Regions from separate parts of the Homo sapiens genome. Here region 1 is linked to region 2. The links are contacts of gene promoters, found by promoter capture Hi-C in blood cells and fetal thymus (Javierre and others, 2016). All regions are on one chromosome and are shown on one strand. Each heading gives the region's core, a stretch centred on a gene start or on the middle of the fragment in contact. The rest is flanking DNA. Distances are from core to core; before and after follow the strand shown. Region 1 has its middle 190 kb from the start of INO80D-AS1. Region 2 holds the start of CTLA4 (cytotoxic T-lymphocyte associated protein 4).

Evidence for each region. Contacts are between HindIII fragments. The CHiCAGO score rates a contact against its expected background, and 5 or more counts as called.
Region 1: a contact is called between a fragment that was not itself captured here and the fragment with the promoter of CTLA4 in region 2, in 1 of 17 cell types (M0 macrophages). The highest score is 6.0, in M0 macrophages.

Annotation. Positions count from the first base shown.
Region 1 is chr2:205,896,720-205,902,567 of GRCh38, forward strand. It overlaps the pseudogene RN7SKP178. Among named protein-coding and RNA genes, the nearest start is that of INO80D-AS1, 190 kb to the right of the region's middle. The HindIII fragment of the contact is 2,608 bases long and covers 1,571-4,178 here.
Region 2 is chr2:203,863,518-203,869,405 of GRCh38, forward strand. It overlaps CTLA4 (cytotoxic T-lymphocyte associated protein 4), which reads left to right and starts at 4,254. Exons shown (of 4, transcript NM_005214.5): 1 at 4,254-4,534. The coding sequence starts at 4,426. The HindIII fragment of the contact is 240 bases long and covers 4,121-4,360 here.

The DNA.
Region 1 (5,848 bases), core at 1,625-4,124, 2.0 Mb after region 2:
CTGTTTACTGTCCAACCGATACCTTGGAATCCTGCTCTTATCAATGTTCTGTTGTGTGTTTTACTTGACATTTTTGAAAACACCAAAGTTAGCCCTATATAAAAACTGATTGGTTCCTCTGTGATGATCCAGGTACTCATGATGCTGCAAGTCAGGTGGCTGTCACTAGTGGCTAAGGTGCTGTGGGCTGAACAGAGTTCTCCCTGGGCACAGGGAGCAACTCTTGATTGTCTCTGTGGCTCAGGTGCCTGTCTCCTGCTAAGTCTGAGTCCTCCAAGGACAGGGACTTATCCATCTTTATAGCCCACAAACCCAGAGTAGTGCCAGGTACATAGTGAGTGCCTCTCTGTTGAATGAAATGCAGCCTCACTTTTTTTTCTATTAGAGTTAAAATACACATAACATTGACCATCTTAACCACTTTAAAGTGTACAATTCAGTAGCATTGAATATATTCACAGTGTTATGCAATGTCATAGTTTTTATTCTTTTTTTTTTTTTGAGATGGAGTCTTGCTCTGTTGCCCAGGCTGGAGTACAATGGCGCAATCTCGGCTCACTGCAACCTCCACCTCCTGGGTTCAAGTGATTCTCCTGCTTCAGCCTCCTGAGTAGCTGGGACTATAGGCATGCACCACCACGCCCATCTAATTTTTTGTATTTTTAGTAGAGACAGGATTTTACTGTGTTAGCCAGGATGGTCTCAATCTCCTGACCTCGTGATCTGCCCACCTTGGCCTCCCAAAATGCTGGGATTACAGGCTTGAGCCACTGCACCTGGCCTTTTTTTTTTTTTTTAAAGGTGCAATGCTTCATTCCTGTAATCCCAGCTCTTTGGGAGGCCAAGGCGGGGGGATTGTTTGAGCCCAGAAGTTTGACACCCATCTGGGCAACACAGTGGGACCCAGTCTCTACAAAAAATAAAAAATTAGCAGGGCAGGGTGGCACATACCTGTATTCTCAGCTACTCAGGAGGCTGATGTGGGAGGATTGCTTGAGCCCAGGAGGTCAAGGCTGCAGTGAGCTGTGGTTGCACCACTGCACTCCACCCTGGGCAACAGGACGAGACCCTGTCTCAAAAAAAAAAAAAAAAAAAAAAAGACTCCTCAATAAAATTACTCTAAATAGATTAACAGTTTTTTCTAAGAAATGAAAAAATAAAAGATAAAATATGGAGCGTGATTTCAAGGCAATCTAGACAACAAGGTGTGAATACTGTTCTCCACTAAATGCAACTGTTATCACTTCTTAGCTCTTCTGTGGTCGTCTCCTAGTGCTCAAAACGTAGTCATCAAGCAGATGTGTTGAGCACTCTGTTAGATGCTGGGAATAAACAGATGAACAGACATGGCCAGTGTCTGTGAGGTGCTTAAAGACCAGAGAAGAGACAGATGCTTATTTCTAATTCCCCACACTATACTGCGAAACTCGTCAGGGTAGGTGTTTTTGTCTTTTTTTTAATTCCCTGCTCTATCCCCAGTATATTGAACAGTGCCTGGCATGCTATAGGCATTTTAAAAATACTCGATGAATGAATAAATAATGAAAATCTGGCTGGGGAAGTAGGAGAAAGCTTCACCAAAGGCCTTAGTTGGGTTTGTTCTTGAAAGTATCATTTCTTGAAGAAAGAGTTACAGACATCCTCACAGGAGAAGAAGGTCTTCTTGGAAGCCTGGGTACAGAGCAGGTGGCATGACCGGATGCTGGAAGAGTAGGACATGGAAAGACAGATCAAATCACAAAGGACTTTGTATGCCACCTTGAGGAATCTAGAGTTTTGCTTACATCTTGTTAAGTGAAGAATTTTAAGCAAAATGTTTGTGCTATGCTCTGAATGTTTGTGTTCACCCAAAATTCATACATTGAAACCTAATCACCAAGGTAATGGTATTAGAAGGTGAAGCCTTTGGGAGGTGATTAGGTCATGAGGAGTCTGCCCTAATGAATGGGATTAGTGCCCTTATGAAAGAAGCCCCAGAGAGTTGCCTTCCTCTTTCACCACGTGAGCATAAAGCAAGAAGGTGCCATCTACGAGGAACAGGCTCTCACCAGACACCAAAAAAACTGCTGAATGCCTTGATTGTAGACTTCCCAGCCTCCAGAACTGTGAGCAATAAATTCCATTGTTTATAAATTACCTAGTCTAAGGTATGTTGTTATAGTAGCCCAAATGACTAAGGCAGTTTGCATTTTGGAAAAGTCACAGAATTGTATTCTAGATAAGCAGCACTTATCAAACCACACACATCCCCACCACTTTCCAGGCATCAGAAGCCATTAATCATGTCATATCTGCAGCTAATACTTTGTTTCCATGCATACTGCATCATTCCTGCTGAGAAAATTTCCCAGACTTCCCACTCAAATCCCTCTTCCCTGGAATATCTTCCTTTCATGGCAAAGAAAAAGAAAATGAGGAGAGATGCCTATGAATCCACTCACCGGCCTTTCTGTCTGATATCATTTTGCTGTGTCCCCACCCAAATCTCATCTTGAATTGTAGCTCCCATAATTCCCATGTGTTATGGGAGGGACCCAGTTGGAGATAATTGAATTGTGGGGGTGGTTTCCTCCATACTGTTCTCGTGGTAGTGAATAAGTCTCACGAGATCTGATAGTTTTATAAGGGGAAACCCCTTTTGTTTGGTTCTGATTTCCTCTCTTGACTGCTGCCATGTAAGACGTGCCTTTCACCTTCCATCATGATTGTGATGTCTTCCCAGGCACGTGGAACTGTGAGTCCATTAAGCCTCTTTTTCTTTTTAAATTACCCAGTCTCGGGTATGTCTTCATCAGCAGCGTGAAAACAGACTAATACACCCTCCCATGGGATTACTCTTTTAGCTGCTTCTAAGCATTCCGCATCAGTTCCTGGTTTGGATTCTCCTGGAAGCAGACTCTGAGACAAGGACCTGAGAGTCAATAGGTTATTGGGAAAGATCCTGGAAAGGCAAGAGAATGAGAAGGGAAAGTGAAATCCAGAAGGGAGAAGCAAACAATGAAGGGTGAGTTGGTAAGCTGGTGAGGAGGCTGCCACGATGGGAGACTCTGGCCTGGCCCCACTAAAGAACTGTAGAGTACACCTCAGAACTTTCCCCAGGAGGGCCAAGGAAGCTGCAATACTTATCCACCAATTCCTAACCCTCACAGGCTGGGGACCACCTCTGGGGGAATTATATTCTAGGCGTCTCTGGTCTGCCCTGTGCTCTGGCTGACAGATCCCTCAGGTATAGAAGCAGAGAGATGAGGGCGTCTGTGGTAGGCAGCTGTGAGCATGCACAAGAGTGGCCTTTGCAGCTGCAAGTGAACTCAGAGGTGGGCCAAAGGGAAAAGGGCAGGGCTTCAGCAGCATCTTCTACACCATCTGCCCTACCAGAGCTTGTTTCCCCTCTAGAAGATGGTTGCAGAGACAATGCTGTGTGTCCACCATCTTGTCTCAGGCACACAGAAAGATGACATGTCCCAGGCTCCCCTGTCATTTAAGCCATCTCATTCACAGCTAAATTAGAAACAGGGTGCTACTTCTGCCCAGTAGAATATGAACAGAAGTTACTAAAGTCATTTTCAGGCCTGACCCTTAAAAACAACCCAGGCGAGGGCCAGGCGCAGTGGCTCACACCTGTAATCCCAGCACTTTGGGAGGCCGAGGTGGGCGGATCACGAGATCAGGAGATCGAGACCATCCTGGCTAACATGGTGAAACCCTGTCTATACTAAAAATACAAAAAATTAGCTAGGCATGGTGGCGGGCACCTATAGTCCCAGCTACTCAGGAGGCTAAGGCAGGAGAATGGCGTGAACCCTGGAGGTGGAGCTTGCAGTGAGCCAAGATCACGCCACTGCACTCCAGCCTGGGTGACAGAGCAAGACTCCGTCTCAAAAAAAACAAAAACAAAAAACAACCCATGCAAGGATGTGACGGTGGTCTGGCTGCAACATCTGTCACCCCACTGATCACCAGGGTTGATTCGGCTGATCTGGCTGGCTAGGTGGGTATGCCCTCCTGAGCCTCACCACTCCATGTTCATCCCTCCTGAAGCTGCATGCTTGGTTGAAGAAGACAACCTTCCCCAGTAGAAGGCCAATATTTGGTCAAGGGTATATAAGTAGCTGCATTCCCTTGCTAGAACCTCCAAACAAGCTCTCAAGGTCCATTTGCAGGAAAATGTTGGGTAGTGAAGCTTCCAAGGCTCCAGACACATCCAAATGAGGTGCTGCATGTGGCAGTATGTTTTTTGTTTTTTGTTTGTTTGTTTGTTTGTTTGTTTTGAGACAGAGTCTTGCTCTGTCACCCAGGCCGGAGTACAGTGGCACGATCTCGACTCACTGCAACCTCCGCCTCCCAGGTTCAAGCGATTCTCCTGCCTCAGCCTCCCAAGTAGCTGGGATTATAGGCACCCGCTGCCATACCTGGCTAATTTTTTGTATTTTAGTAGAGACGGAGTTTCACCGTGTTGCCCAGGCTGGTCTCAAACTCCTGAGCTCAGGCAATTCACCCACCTTGGCCTCCCAAATTGCTAGGATTGCAGGCATAAGCCACCACACCCAGCCACTTTTCTTAAAAACACACACACAAACAAACAAAACTATGTGATCCTCCAGTTCTTTCTCTTCAGTGACCAACTTGAAGTCCATATGTTTAAGATGGTAGGAATGTAAGATTGAAGGAGCTTTGATCCCTGAGTCACTGAGTGAAGGAGTCCACCAAGGAAAGCCACTCAAATTATGCCAGACTGTAACATGAATGAGAAATAGGCAGTATGCAGCCCCTAAGATTTGGAGATTTGTTACTGCAGAAAAGCCTAGCCCATCCTGACTAACACAGAATATATATTGGCTCTGCTGAGAATCTCTGCATGTTTTGGCAGTATGTTTCTTTTCCCTTTTCCTCTTCATAACTTGAAAAGAATCTTTAATGCAATTTCAGGGCTAAAACAGTGTGCTTCCGCTTCAAGAAACAAATATGCTTAGCTGAGTGATGTTCTTGCAGTTGGCAATGAACCCGTGATGCCCAGCCAGTATAATAGTCTTGACAGCATCTCTCAAGGCCCGCCTGCCTGCTTTAAGACCCAGTCTTGGCGACAGGGTTTAGCTGCCCACCCTTCCATTTAACACATCTAGAGAAACTACCAATTACTGCTAAACTGCCTTGTGTGGCTCAGCCCTCAGGTCAGAGGATGACATCCGGGAGGGCCATTTCAATGATTATGTAATTAATATTATCATGATATATAACTGCAGTAATGGTTTTTATCAATAGAGACCTGTTCTTCCTAGGCTATTCTTCAAAGTCAGGCTGTTGCCTGTTCTACCTTTGTGACATTCAGGAGCATCCTCTGGCCACGTGGTTCGGAGGTTTTATTGTACATCTTTAAGTGCTCTCTCTGAAACCCATGGGTCCTGGAAGTTTTGAACTAGGTTTTGTGGCTCTGCGTCACCTTCACAGTCTTAAAACGCACCCGTTTACACAAATGCCTGCTCACAAGCCACAGAGTGATGGCCGCTGACTCCTCCCAAAGTCAACACTTAGATTTATTGACTGAGAAGGATGTAACTGACCGAAACTTCACCCAGCTCAATATTTGCCTAGAGACAATAAATCTCAACACCGACCCAAACTGAAAGTCGATGGATATGTATTGTTACAGACTTTCTTTTGGCAAGACTAATCCATTGGGTATGGATTTTGAAATAATTTCATTTTGATTGGAGTGTGGGGCTAGCTGGACAGTGCAGTCAGAAAACAAAGTGGGGGACGCGTGATAGGAGCAGTTGCTCCTTGTAATCCCATAGTTAAATTCAGTGCTGTGAGCAGCACTTAGAAAAAAGAGCATGTCATCTATCAGGCC
Region 2 (5,888 bases), core at 3,004-5,503:
GTTTATTGCCTACCATATTATCAATAATATAAATAGTTGGCCTTATAATTTTTACTTCGAATTTTTTTGAAAAACCTCAAATTTACAAAGAATTTGTAAGAATAGTACCATGAATACACACATATTCTTCACCTAGATTCACCAATTGTTAAAATTCCATCACTGCTGTTTAATTCTTTTTATCTTTCTCTGCTAACACAGACACATATTTTTGCTGAACCTTCTGAGAGTACTTGCTGACATTCTGACACTTAAACCTCGAATACCTAAGTATTATCTATAAACAAGGATGGTTCTCTACATAACCCCAGTACGATGATCACATTCAGGAAATTAAACATTAAGGCAATGCTATTATGAAATATAGGCTATACTCAAATTTCCCCCAGTTTCTCAGTAATCTGCTTTGTATTATTTTTTTCAATCAATAATAACACATTAAATTCTGTCATCATGTCTCTATTTTCTCCTTTAATCTAGAATGGTTTTCCAGGCTTTTCCCTTTTTAATCTTTTGTGATGTTAACATTTTTGAAGAATCTAGGCCAGTTATTTTGCAGAATATGGATTTGTCTGATTATTTCTTCATGCTTAGATTCAGTTAAAACAATTTTGGCAATAACTACACAAAGTTGTTGTGTCCTTCTCAGTGTATTGTATCTGGAGGTACCCTATGTCAGAACACTCCATCACAGTAATCTTCAGTTGGGATCACTTGGTTAAAGCAGTATCTGCTAGATTTATCAATTATCTTTTCCCTATTGTAATTATCAAGTAATCTGTGGGGTGGTATATGTGAATATATCTTTTCTCACCAAGATTCTTTTACCCAGCATTTTTTTTACAACCATTTGAATTTTCTTGCTATGACAGAATTAGTTTCATAAGAGCATAATTAAGGAATCTGGTAAGACGTCTTTGAAAGTTCTAATTACAACCCTCATCTCTTCTTATGTTAAACTGTCTTCATTCATTTACCTACCTATTTAACAAATGTTTAAAGAATGCTCGTTTTGTGGCTTGGCCTGTGACATTTTCATCAGTGGCTTCATAGTTGCCTAAACTAATGTCTCTTCCTGTGCTCCAGAATCCTATTGGCAACTATTTTCCATGGATGCCATAAACTCAACATACTCAGATGAAAGCTGTCATTTCACTTTCTCACCTGCTCTTCCTGTTATTTATTCCAGTAAATTGCACCTCTGTCTTCTCATTGACCCTATAATAAGAAAGGCCTATTTATTGAGTGGCTATCTGTTACAATAGGCCTTTTATACATGTTACATGCATTATCTCATTTAATCTTTTCAATAATCTTGAGAATTAGATGCCATTATCTGGAGGACATTGGGCTTTGAGCCCCAGGTCAACAGTAAGCAAGTCCCCATGCTAGGATACAAATCCAGTTATCTTGGGCTTCAAAATCTTTGCTTTAGCATAGTGATAAAGGTATCACTGGCTTCAAATCCTGGCTCTGCCACTTCCTACGGGTGATTGGGTAAGTCACCTTAACTTTCAATGCCTTGATTTCCTTCTTTATAAAATGGGAAAAATGGTAACTCTTGTCTTGTAGGGTTGTTATGGACTTGAAAGAAACAAAACTTGCTGGGCGCGGTGGCTCACGCCTGTAATCCCAGCGCTTTGGGAGGCCGAGGCGGGTAGATCACCTGAGGTCAGGAATTTGAGACTAGCCTGGTCAACATGGCGAAACCCCATCTCTACTAAAATAATACAAAAAATTAGCTGGGCGTGGTGGTGGGTGCCTGCAATCCCAGCTACTTGGGAGGCTGAGGCAGGAGAATCACTTGAACCCAGGAGGCAGAGGTTGCAGTGAGCCGAGATCGCGCCACTGCACTCCAACCTGGGAAACAAGAGTGAAACTCTGTCTCAAAAAAATAAAAAAGAAAAGAAAGAAAACTTGACATTTGAATAATTTCTGCAGCACCACAGTACTTCTCAAACCATAATTCTGGTGTCATTCATTCTAAACTTCTCCTTCCACTCACTGATTGTGGACTAGTCCCATAGGGACCTCGTCTTCACAGCTGTCATTACCTTAGTTTAGACCAGGGGTTGGCAAACCATGGCCCACAGGCCAAATCCAGACTTCACCTATTTTCGTAAATGAAGTTTTATTGGAATGCACACACACCCATTTGTTTACATATAATATATGGCTTCTTTCATTCTAAAATGACAGAGTTGAGTAGTGGCAACAGAGACCCCACCGTTTGCAAATCATAACATATTTACTATTTTGCCCCCTTCAGAAAGCTTTCCAAATCCTGGTGCCTGGCGTATTCCAATAGTCTTCTTCCCAGTCTTCCTGGTTACATTTCTCCCTGAACCCATCCTCCCCATCCCTAAAATTTCCCCCAAATGTGAACTCAGTCATACCAGTTTGCTCCTTATGTTTCATTGGCCCTTGCTGCTAAGAGCATCCGCTTGCACCTTCTGCTCATCCCCAGACAAGCTTTGTCCTGTGACCATAATGAACTCTTCATGCCGTTTCCAACTTTAGCCCATGTTATTCTTCTTGTCTGAATATCCACCCTTTTCTCTGTTCTCAATAATAAGTTCAGGCTTTTCGTCTTCTGAGAAGCCCTTTCTGACTTCCACAGGCTGAACCACTGGCTTCTGCTCCTCTACATAATACTTCAATTCCAGCATTGATCTCACTCTATCATGATCATGGGTTTAGCTGTCTGTCCCTGCCACTGCTGTGTGTTCCTCTTGAGGGCAGGAACATTTGTTTTTCACTTTTTAAAAAACCTCTGTTGCCCAGTCTGGCATTAGGAAGTGCCCATTAGGTTGTTATTGCTTGTTGGCGCTTGAGCTGGGGCTTGAAGGTTTCTATAATGTGTAGCAGTGTATAGAAAACAGGCAGGTCAGAAAAGGCTTCTGTGCATCACACCAACATGGCACATGTATACATATGTAACAAATCTGCATGTTGTGCACATGTACCCTAAAACTTAAAGTATAATAATAATAAAATTTTAAAAAAAAAAAGAAGAGGCTTCCTGGAGGAGATGACAGCTGAGCTAAGTCCTGGAGGATGAGAAGGAGTATAAAATAAGATAATAGGAGAAAAAAGGCAGTAGGAACAGCATGGGTAAAGGTGATGAGGCCTGAAAGAGGCACGTGGAAGGAAAGACAAATGCAGGAAGGGGGAATGGGAGGGAATGCTGGGGTACAGGCCAAAGAGGGAGGCATTTGGTGAGTATTCTGCAGAGTCTCCTCTGCTGTGCTGAGGTGTGGACAATGGGAAACCATGGACGGACTGGAGTAGGCAAATGTCATATTCCCTGTTACAACTGTCTGTTTGCATGTCAGCCTTCTAGAAGCCCCTTAAGGTATCAACTATGTTTTTGTTTTGTCATCATTCAATCCTAAGTGCACAGAATTCCGGGCATATTACAGGTTCCCCATGAATGTTTCTTTCTTTATTAAAATGTATGAAAACTCTCCAGATTTAAGGAAGGTCCTCAATGTTTCAAATTCTTTTTGTTAGATCATTGGTCCTGTCTACAGCTGTCACAAATTTAAGGACTCTGGTTATATTTAATCTTCACTTTTGAATTTTCTGCTTGAAAAATTTGTATTAGAAAAAAAAGTCTATCCTTTTATGGACGGCTCTAATCTCTTGAATCATTTGGGTTGGCTTTTCTTTGGACCTTCTTCAACTCTGTTTTGTCTCTGTTGAGTTAAGGCTTTTAAGAACACCTGAATTCTTTCCTTCTGCAAAACCAGAGGCAGCTTCTTTTCCGCCTATTTTCAGTTTATTTCTTGTGATTTTAGTTTTTTTCTCTTAACCAAATGCTAAATGGATTTAGGAGAAATAAACTTATTTGTAAAGCTGTCAAGGGACCATTAGAAGGATGGTGCTTCACAGATAGAATACAGTTTTTATTAATGATGCCTAGACAAATCCTGCCATTAGCCCAAGGGCTCAGAAAGTTAGCAGCCTAGTAGTTTTGGAGTTGTCAATGAAATGAATTGGACTGGATGGTTAAGGATGCCCAGAAGATTGAATAAAATTGGGATTTAGGAGGACCCTTGTACTCCAGGAAATTCTCCAAGTCTCCACTTAGTTATCCAGATCCTCAAAGTGAACATGAAGCTTCAGTTTCAAATTGAATACATTTTCCATCCATGGATTGGCTTGTTTTGTTCAGTTGAGTGCTTGAGGTTGTCTTTTCGACGTAACAGCTAAACCCACGGCTTCCTTTCTCGTAAAACCAAAACAAAAAGGCTTTCTATTCAAGTGCCTTCTGTGTGTGCACATGTGTAATACATATCTGGGATCAAAGCTATCTATATAAAGTCCTTGATTCTGTGTGGGTTCAAACACATTTCAAAGCTTCAGGATCCTGAAAGGTTTTGCTCTACTTCCTGAAGACCTGAACACCGCTCCCATAAAGCCATGGCTTGCCTTGGATTTCAGCGGCACAAGGCTCAGCTGAACCTGGCTACCAGGACCTGGCCCTGCACTCTCCTGTTTTTTCTTCTCTTCATCCCTGTCTTCTGCAAAGGTGAGTGAGACTTTTGGAGCATGAAGATGGAGGAGGTGTTTCTCCTACCTGGGTTTCATTTGTTTCAGCAGTCAAAGGCAGTGATTTATAGCAAAGCCAGAAGTTAAAGGTAAAACTCCAATCTGGCTTGGCTGGCTCTGTATTCCAGGGCCAGCAGGGAGCAGTTGGGCGGCAGCAAATAAGGCAAAGAGATAGCTCAGAACAGAGCGCCAGGTATTTAGTAGGGGCTTCATGAATGCATGTGAGTTGGTTTAGTAGAGAGACACAGGCAATTTCAGACCCTTCTATGAGACTGGAAGTGATTTAAGAGGGAAAGGATAGCCATAGTCCTGAATACATTTGAGCTGGGTTTCAGGATGAGCTCACAAGTTCCTTTAAAAAAAATTGACTTAAGCAAATCCTGGGAAGAGTTTTTTTGCTATACAATTCAAGGTTTTAAGGTCCTCGGATTCATATACTTTATAAATGAATTAGCCAGCTTGTTTAAAATGTAGGGAAATTGTGGGAAGAATGCCTTCTTTACTTAATTCAAGGTTTTAAGGTTCTCTTAATCAATTCTACTAGCTAATTAGCCAATTATTTAAAAATAAAAGTTTGAAATTGCCAAAAAAAAAAGACAAGGAAAAGGAAAGAAAGAAAGCCACCAGTCTGTTTGGCATACAATACTTAATTGTTGCCTGACCTACGTGTGGGTTTCAGATGCAGATCCTCAGTTTTCAGCTCTTCAGAGACTGACACCAGGTTTGTTACACGGCTTAAAATGATGAGTATATCCATTGAATCTCAACCTTATCTCTCTCTAGACCTTCTTGGTTAAGAAACCATGTAGTTTGTATGAAGTAGGTACTCAAAAGATATTTGATGATTTAATTTTTACTGGAGAAGAAATATTCATATATGTTTTCTTATTTTTACATGTTTTAAATATGTAAAGATTAAATAAACACTCTTAGAAGTATTTAAATTTCCTAAAGTAAATTTATCTCAACCAGTAACAGGACCCTCCCAATACTGGAAAGTTGAGTGTGACCGCATTTAGTGGTGATGAGTGTGAGCTTGCTTGGGGAGAGGGCAGGACATTTAGGATTTCTTAAGCTTAGAGTCAATACAATAAAGATTATTGAGTGCTCACTTGGGTGGGCTATAATCACTGCTCACAGGAGTTCATGAACCACAAGTAAAAGAGTGAGGAGATATGATTAGCTCACAAATAACTTTAATACAGAGCAGAAAGTAATGAACTACTGCAATGGAGTTATCACAGTGCTAAGGATGCTCAGAGGGCATCTCTGATAGGCAGAGGTGAGGGTTAGGGAAGGAAGCTGTAGTCTAGCTAGCTAGAGCTGCTGGAATA